Regions from separate parts of the Homo sapiens genome. Here region 2 is linked to region 1. Evidence: promoter capture Hi-C in 16 types of primary human blood cells and fetal thymus (Javierre and others, 2016). All regions are on one chromosome and are shown on one strand. Each heading gives the region's core, a stretch centred on a gene start or on the middle of the fragment in contact. The rest is flanking DNA. Distances are from core to core; before and after follow the strand shown.

Region 1 (4,613 bases), core at 1,353-3,852:
AGCTGTAGCCCGACCACCTTGGGCACATTTTCTCAGGATCTCCTGGGGCTGTGTCATGAGCCATGGTCACTCACATTTAGCTCAGAATAAATCTCTTAGAATATTTTAGAGTTTGACACTTTTCATTGACAAAAGTATCACAATTTGGGAGTACCTTAATCTGTTAATACAGTCAATAAACATTTACTGCCTACTGCATATCAGACACTGTATTGGACACTACAGCTACACAATCCCCTTCTCTGGACATACTCTCAATCAACTACTGAGAATCAGTTAGTTGAAACAAAGATTAAGAGGAAGAGGAAAGGGTAAAGTCAGAAAAGTCTTCCTGGGGAAGACCATTTCAAAAGCAGTCTTCCAGAACAAACAAGTTAACTGAGCAGGGCATAGAAGAGAGATGTAGCCTTCTAAGGAAAGGAAATGCAAAGTCAATGAGGCAAGTAACAGCAAGGAATGGCCCAGACAATAACAACAGACATTAACAACGGGAGGTGACTCCAGTCAACAATAGTAGAGGGTAACAACCTGTGGTCATTGCAGGCAGTTTAGTGTTGCTGAAATAGCAAGCCCTGAGCAGAAAGTAAACAACCAGTCTGGGGCAGGGTTTCTTTCTTAATTTTGCACCACTGCCATTTACGACGGATAACTGTTGTAAGGGGTTGTCCCATACATAACAGAATGCTTAGCAGCGTCCCTGGCCTTGATGCACTAGATGCTAGTAGCACCCCCATAATGAATAGTTGTGATAACCATAAAGGTCTCCAGATTTGTCCCTGGGAGCAAAATTGGCCCCACTCCCCAGAACAATTGGGCTTGAGATACATCAAAAAAAATACTTCAGGGCAGGGCGCTGTGGCTCATGCCTGTAATCCCAGCACTTTAGGAGGCCAAGGCGGGTGGATCACCTGAGATCAGGGGTTTGAGACCAGCCTGACCCACACAGTGAAACCCTGTCTCTACTAAAAATACAAAATATTAGCCAGGCATGGTGGCGCACGCCTGTAATCCCAGTTACTCGGGAGGTTGAGACAGAAGAATCGCTTGAACTCGAGAGGCGGAGGTTGCAGTGAGCTGAGAGGGTGGGCCATTGCACTCCAGTCTGGACGACAGAGCGTGCCTCCGTCTCAAAAAAAAAAAAAAAAAAAAAAAAAAATTTAGGCCGGACACGGTGGCTCACTCCTACAATCCCTGCACTTTGGGAGGCCAAGGCGGGATGATCACTTGAGCCCAGGGGTTCCAGACCAGTCGGGGCAACAAAGGGGGACCTTACAACTACAAAAAAAAAATTTTTTTTTTAATTAGCCACACCTGGGACCCAAGTACCTGGGACCACACTCACCTGTCCCGTGGCTCACGCCTGTAATCCCAGCACTTTGGGAGGCTGAGGCGGGTGGATCACGAGGTCAAGAGATCGAGACCATCCTGGCCAACATGGTGAAACCCCGTCTCTACTAAAAATACAAAAAGTAGCTAGGCATGGTGGCGCTCGCCTGTAATCCCAGCTACTGAGAGGGTGAGGCAGGAGAATCGCCTGAACCCGGGAGGCGGAGGGTGCAGTAAGCCGAGATCGCGCCACTGCACTCCAGCCTGGCGACACAGCGAGACTCCGTCTCAAAAAAAAAAAAAAAGTGTCTTCAACTCAGATAGAAGGAGTCAATGAGAAGGTTCTTAAAAGCCCGAAGACCTATTTCCCAGAAAACTCTAATTAACCTTATAATTTGTATAGTTAGTTACAGTGAGTATGAGCTGTCTTGCTCTGTACTTCAGCTGTTGTAAGTGTTTACGAACTGTCTCCAAAAACAGATGCAAATTTCCCTCATGGCAGAGATCGTAACGAATTTATCTATCCACTTTCTCACAGCGCCACACCGTTCCTTACGCACAGCAGGAATGCAATCAGTATTTGTCGATGGTTCCCCAAACTAACAGGAGTGGCTGCACTACGCACACTTAGGTGATACGTACACTTGTCAAAACGGCAGAAACGCAACCTCAATTTCAGAAAAACAAACCACATTCCTTTGGGAAGGCCACCTCTGCCACAAGCAGCCAAAGCGCTTGCATAGGGGTGAGAGGCGATGGGAAGGGTACTGGAAGGCTCCCCCAGATAAAAACAAAAGACTCCTTCCAATCGCCTCAAACACGCTCGGAAACCTCCACGACCTGCGCCAGCCCACAGGAGGGGGCCAGCTTGACCTGAGGCTGCACCACTCCCCACTTAAAGCGGCGAGTATCGGCGGGGGAGCGCAGGAAGCTTACTAGTGGGGCGACCCAGTCGTTCCGGCGCTTTCCCTCTCCCTTCACGTCTTACCTGCTTGGCCAAGAACCTGCCCAACTCACTGCGGCTCTTCTCGTTCTTGGCTGCGATTAACCGCAGCGGCGCGGCTGCCACCTCCAGCAAGAAGTGCTCCATGACCCAGGGCCCTCACCCCGAGCGGCCACCTGCGCTCCCTACTTCGCGGCCAGCGTCCCCAAGCCGCCGAGGTCCCAGTGCCCGAGCAGCCAGCAACTACGCCCGCAGGAAAGGCGTCCTCAGCTCCAGCGCCTACACCGGGAGAGGGGCACCACACGTGGGTGAGCACACGGCGTTTGACGTCATCAGCTCGGGACGGCTACGCTGCGCCCTCCCGGCCTCAGCCCCTCAGCGGCGGAAACGCCAGTCTTCGCTGTCCCGCCTTTTCCGGGAGGGAAATGGAAACAAAAATCTAGTCGGTTTGGATGCAGGAGTGATGGGGACTCGCGAACACAGCACGTGGTGGGACAGAAAGAAGAGTGCGTTAGGCCGGGGAGGAAAGAGGGGGCGTGTGAGTCTCAGCCCACCGTGCCTTGCTTCTGCCTTAACACACGGAAAGATCAGATGTGAGAGAAAAGCTGATTCTCGGCCGGGCGCGGTGGCGCATGTCTTTATCCCAGCATTTTGGGAGGCCGAGGAGGGCAGATCACTTGAGGTTAGCAGTTCGAGACCAGCCTGGGCAACATGGTGAAACCCCCTTCTCTACTAAAAATACAAAAATTAGCCGGGCGTGGTGGCGCGCGCCTGTAGTCCCAGCTACTCGGGAGGCTGAGGCAGGAGAATCGCTTGAACCCGGGAGACGGAGGTTACAGTAAGCCGAGATCGTGCAGCTGCACTCCAGCCGCGCGACACAGCAGACTTTTACTGTCTCAAAAAAAGAAAGAAAAGCTGATTCTCCCCTTCTTGTTAGCGGTGGCAGTTACCCCCTGTATAGGTAGGGGTCAGCAGTAACCTTAGTTCTTGCCTCCTCAGAAGAAATAATTCCACGAAGGGCATAAGGCAGGATAGACCTAGACAAGTTTCAGAATAGAAGTAAAAGTTTATCAAAAAGCTTTAGAACGGGACGGAAAGAAAAGGAGGAAAGTACAACTTGGAAGACTGCCAAGCAGGCGACTTGAGAAACCAAGTGCGCAGCTTGACCTGTTGACTTGAAGTTTTATATGTTGGCATACTTTGGGGAACTTGCATTGCTTCTCCCCACTCCTGAGATCTTACTGGGAAGCTACTGATCAGTTTCAGGTGTTTTCTATTAGGAGACTGCCTTTCGCTGGCCCCGGTGAACGTTAGAGAAACAGTTAAGAACCGCCTGACCATCGTTTGATTGTCACCCAATAGTCCTGGTATGTGTGGGGTGGGGAGCGCTCTCCTGTTCTGCTCATACCTAACTAGTTAACATTCTGCCCCAGCAATTCCCCTTGTAGGACTCTAGCCTGCGGAAATCCTCACTAAGTGTGACAAAGACACCCCTTGCAGTTTTCTTAATACAGATATTGGAAGAAAATGTTCAATTGGGAATATTAAACTATGGGGTGTAAGTTATAGCATATTCTGGAAGTCATAAAAAATAGTAGAGTCCATAACATTAAAAGTGCACTTGTGGGCTGGGCGCAGTGGCTCAAGGCAAGGCAGGCAGATCACGAGATAAGGAGTTGGAGACCAGTCTGGCCAACATGGTGAAACCCTGTCTCTACTAAAAATACAAAAATTAGGGCTGGGTGCCTTGGCTCACGCCTGTAATCCCAGCACTTTGGGAGGCCGAGGCGGGCAGATCACCTGAGGTCAGCAGTTTGAGACCAGCCTGACCAACATGGTAAAACCCTGTCTCTACTAAAAATACAAAAATTAGCCAGGTGTGGTGGTGCATGCCTGTAATCCCAGCTACTCAGGAGGCTGAAGCAGGAGAATCGCTTGAACTCAGGAGACGGAGGTTGTGGTGAGCCGAGATCGTGGGATTGCACTCCAGCCTAGGCAACAAGAGCGAAACTCCGTCTTTTTTTTTTTTTTTTAAGTGGGGCCAGGCGTGGTGGCTCACGCCTGTAATCCCAGCACTTTGGGAGGCCAAGGCGGGCAGATCACCCGAGGTCGGGAGTTTGAGACCAGTCTGGCCAACATGGTGAAACCTTGTCTCTACTAAAAATACAAAAAGCTGGGCATAGTGGTGGGCGCCTGTAATCCCACCTACTCAGGAGGCTGAGGCAGGAGAATAGCTCGAGCCCGGGAGGCGGAGGTTGCAGTGAGCGGACATCGTGCCAGTGCACTCCAGCCTGGGCGACAAGAGCGAAACTCTGTCTCAAAAAAAAGAAAAAGACAAAAAAAA
Region 2 (4,613 bases), core at 1,175-3,674, 2.7 Mb before region 1:
GCCACGCCGGGATCGGGACGCCGGAGAGGGTCGCCCCTCCCTAGGCTTTTTCCCGTCGCGGCGCCCACGTGACCGAGAGCAGGCCTTCACCAGCCCGCCCCTTTCGGCCGCTGCTGCCCACTTCCCGCTCGGGGTAAGTAAACCGCCGTTTTCCGCACCGCCCCAACCCCGCCCTTCTCCTTTCCCCTTGCCTTCACCTCCCTCGGGCTCTCTCGCGCCACTCTCCCCACCCCCATATCTTCCCCATCGGGCCCTTTGTACGTGCTCGGCGCCGTGCAAGCGCGCCCGGCACGTGACCCCGCCGAACGTGGCATTGTGTTATCACGTGACCCAGGTGCGTACGCGACGGAGCGGGGTGTGAAGATGGCGGACGAAGAGGCCGAGCAGGAGAGGTTGAGTTGCGGCGAAGGCGGCTGCGTCGCGGAGCTGCAGCGCCTGGGCGAGCGGCTCCAGGAGCTGGAGCTACAGCTGCGGGAGAGCCGGGTACCGGCCGTGGAAGCGGCCACCGACTACTGTCAGCAGCTGTGCCAGGTGAGGGCGCCCGGTGGTCCCCTCCCCCTTTCCCCAGCTAGAGGGGGAAGAGGGCGAGCGAGCGCTAGGCGGCCGAGAGGTGGTCGCCGCTTCCTTGGCATCATCGGCGCCTCCGCCTGGGTGGGAGCGGGAGTAGAAGGAAGGCGCCTTTGTGTGGCTGCAGTTGTGGCGGTTGTTGTCGTCTGCAGCTCCTGGCTGGGGGAAGGGAGTTGCGGTCAAGGCGGAAAATCCCCCCTCCCCTTTCCTTCCCTGAACTCGGGACTGCGCGGTCCCCGCGGCTGAGGAAATGTACACGGTGCGGATTGGAGAGAGTAGGAGAATGGAGGCCAGGTTCTCTTCCTCCTCCTCCTTTTATTGTGCACTGGGGATTACCGCGCCTCCCGCCTCTGCGCCTCTGCTTCCCACTCCGACGGGCCTCCGCCCCCACTGGTTTGATTCCTTTGCCTTCCCCTGCTTTCATCCGTCCCGCCCCCCAGCCCCGGCCCTGTCCTGGCTGTCTCCGGGCCTTTGTTGTTCGAGTTTCGCCTTAGGACTGAAGGGGCCTTTGTTGATGTTCGGAGGAGCAGTCCCCGCCGACCCCTTCTAGTTGAGCTAGACGTTCGGGAGGGGGTGCTTGGCGGAGGTTGTCCCCTCCTGCCCATACTTGCTTGCTTGGTGCATCACTTCTGTGGTAAAGCTTTATCTCCTTAGTGTAGAGGAGCTGTGCCTGTACATCTGTCTCAGGTTGAGTGTCCTTTTGGGGCGGTTTTTCCAGAGTCCGTTTCTCATTTGCTTTCGCCCTTCGAGGAGTATGATTTCCACTATCCTTTCTGTCCCGATCACCCCCTCACCCCTGTTTCTTGGAGTCCTTCCTATTTGGCTTCCTGATGAAGTGGGAGAAGACTGAGGTTCATGTGGATCTGTGCTTTGGGTAGTTTCAAATCTTTTCTTTGCTTGCCCAAGGGCACTGCTCACCAGTGACTGCATTCTAACCAGAATTTGGAATGTTAATAACACTGTTTGCTAGTGATGAAAATCATTTCATCCATGGTGAAAATCGGAGAGTTTGGGACTACATTTGCACTTCATTACGAGCCTTACACTTAGGTTTAAAATTTCAAGGTAGTGTTGCTGGCTCTGGTGAAGACTTTGATTTGATTGTCTTGAGGAGGAAAAAGAAGACACAATTTACACAGGTCATATTTAGAGTTAACTTGTGAGTGTATCATTACAGAGAATTCGTTTTGGAAAAATACTGATCTTAACGTAGAACAATGGTTGACCATTTTAGCTGAGTAGATTACATTTTCACTTATTTTTTAGCTTCCAAATATTGAAATATTTTCTTTATTATGTCGGGGATACGTGATCACATACAAAAGAATCTCCGTTGCTGTATGCACTTTATTGTCACAAATTATTTGATGGCTGTTCATAATCTTAAAAACAAAAACTGTGAGATCAAGTGGTGACGTCTAGGAGGATGTGCAATGTGAAAGCTCCCTACTTAGGTAAATAGGTCTGGTGAGTACCTGTGGCAAAATTAAAGTCTCATTCCTTTGAATTTTAATATTTAAAAATTGTTGAAATTTCTCAGTTTCTCTACTTTGCAGTACCCACTCATTCTTAATTGGTCTTTAAAGATTTATTTTAGAGATAAAAAAATTTCTCTAAGATACCCATAATAGGAAGTATTTCATTTGTAAGTCGAATCAGTTTTTATATAATAATCAGTGAAAACTATTAAAGTCTAGCTTTGCTGAAAGACATTTTCCCCTAATAGTGTCCACTGATAGTTTTAAGGCTAATTACTGTAAATTCTTTTTTTGTCAGCAGTATTTGTAAGCAGGATTAATAATTCTGGGAAAATAGAATCTCATGCAAGCTGGACTCCCCCCCGCTTTTTTGTGAGTGTGTGACGTTGTAAAGTTATCACTTAAAGATTTTTATTTATTTATTTATTTTTGAGATATGGAGTCTTGCTCTGTCACCCGGGCTGGAGTGCAGTGGTGCGATCTCAGCTCACTGCAGCCTCCATCTCCTGGGTTCAAGCGATTTTCCTGCCTCAGCTTCCCAAGTAACTGGGACTACAGGCGTGCGCCACCAAGCCCAGCTAATTTTTGTGTTTTTAGTAGAGATGAGGTTTGGGGTTTCACTGTATGTCGGCCAGGCTGGTCTCGAACTGCTGGTCTCGAACTGCTGACCTCAAGTGATCCACCCACCTCTGTTTCCCAAAGTGCTGGGATTACAGGTGTGAGCACCGCGTCCCGCCAGACTTGAGTTTTTTAATGAGTGAAACAGCATTTTAAAAATCAGAATGAAAGTAATTTCCTATATCAGTTTCATTAAGTGATTAGTCTTGCCACATAAATTGTTATTGATGCTACTGACAAAAAAACATCAAACACTAATGAAACAAATGCTGGATTTGTGGATTTCAAAAATTATAAAATATTTCATACACTGTAAGCTCAGAATAATTTAAATACACTTAAAAGTAATCTCCATTTGAAACGATACAGAGTGTGTCTGATTTCCTCTGGAACATTTTCTGGGGTGGGGTTTTTTGTTTTGTTTCTCAGGTAACCTATTTATGTTAGTGATCTTGTCAAGTGGAGGTAACTTGAAACAATTGTTTATTTATGTTTATTTACAGGGGTGGAGGTGGCTCACACCTGTAATCCCAGCAGTTTGGGAGGCCGAGTTGGGCGGATCGCTTGAGCCTGAGCAGCATGGCGTGGCCCCTTCTCTACAAAAAATACAAAAAACAAAACAAATCAAAAAAATTAGCCAGGCGCTGTGGCGAGTGCCTGTAGTCCCAGCTACTTACGAGGCTGAGGTGGGAGGATCATTTGAACCCGGGAGGCAGAGGTTGCAGTGAGCAGAGATGGTGCACTGTGCACACTCCAGCCCGGGTGACAGAGAAAGATCCTGTCTCAAAAAAATAAAAAATAAAAATAAAATTGTATCTTAGCAATTATCACCTAGCATTTTGATACGAAGTTGAGTGAAGCAATGGTTAACAATTAAAGAATTTATTGGCGCAATCTAAATATAGTACCAGGGATACTAGGAGCTAGAAATTATGTCTTAGTTTCTAACCTTGAGATTATTATTTAACTTTTTCTGTTTAAGCTTTTCCTGTAAAACTGGGATAGTCACACGCTTCAAGAAGGCAAAGATGAATAAACGTTTGTCAAAGTTAATGGGCTTCAGAATTAATATTCTGTCAGTGTTGATGCTCAGTGCTTGTGTAACCCTTAGTTTTGCATTTACTTTAAAAAATGAATTAGTTTACATTCTATGTAATTTTTATGAGCAAAAGTTCAGTTTCTGGAGAATGTGGTGAAACCCACAGAAACAGGAGTTGCTTATGATCCGTAGTTTATAGATTTTTATTTTTGAGTGAGGTAGAAGATTAATAGATTTTTTGAATTCTGAGTAGCAGAATAGAAACGAAAGGCATTAAATGTTTTTCTTATTAACAGTGTTGTTTTGCTCATTCTGGAAATAAGCCACCTGCCCCCCCTTTGCTTATTTAAATGAGAATTTGCTTAAAGCTTAAGTGGGAGGAGGGAAGAGTAAGTAGAGGATGGGCATAGTAGAGCGCCCGTCATAAATTTTAAATTTTTTTATATATTTTATTTTATTTTTGAGAGATGGGGTCTTGCTACATTGCCCAGGTATGATCATAGCACACTACAACCTCAAACTCTTAGGCTCAAGTGATCCTCCTGTCTCAGCTTTCTTTTCTTTCTTTTTTTTTTTTTTTTTTTTTAAAAAAGATGTAGTTTAACTCTGTCACCCAGGCTGGTGTGCAATGGCGCAATCTGGGCTCACCACAACCTCCGCCTCTTGGGTTCAAGCAATTCTCCTGCCTCAGCCTCCTGAGTAGCTGGGATTACAGGCATGTGCCACCATGCCCGGCTAATTTTGTATTTTTACTAGAGACAGGGTTTCTCCTTGTTGGTCAGGCTGGTTCCGCCCCTCTTGGCCTCCCAAAGTGCTGGGATTACAGGCGTGAGCCACCACGCCCGGCCCTGTCTCAGCCTTCTAAGTAGCTGAGACCTCAGGCATACACCACCATGCCCAGCTCTTAAATT

What was found. Contacts are between HindIII fragments. The CHiCAGO score rates a contact against its expected background, and 5 or more counts as called.
Region 2: a fragment that was not itself captured here is called in contact with the fragment with the promoter of MDN1 in region 1 in 1 of 17 cell types (fetal thymus); the score reaches 10.4 in fetal thymus.

Annotation. Positions count from the first base shown.
Region 1 is chr6:89,817,192-89,821,804 of GRCh38, forward strand. MDN1 (midasin AAA ATPase 1) reads right to left here and starts at 2,603. Exons shown (of 102, transcript NM_014611.3): 1 at 2,315-2,603. The coding sequence starts at 2,416. RefSeq lists enhancers at 1-440, 1,061-1,680, 2,257-2,646, 2,301-2,920, 2,921-3,540 and 1 more. The HindIII fragment of the contact is 1,090 bases long and covers 2,256-3,345 here.
Region 2 is chr6:87,155,229-87,159,841 of GRCh38, forward strand. It overlaps ZNF292 (zinc finger protein 292), which reads left to right and starts at 337. Exons shown (of 8, transcript NM_015021.3): 1 at 337-531. The coding sequence starts at 364. LOC124901355 (translation initiation factor IF-2-like) reads right to left here and starts at 19. Exons shown (of 2, transcript XM_047419630.1): 1 at 1-19. RefSeq lists enhancers at 1-34, 305-644, 1,156-1,763. The HindIII fragment of the contact is 2,438 bases long and covers 1,206-3,643 here.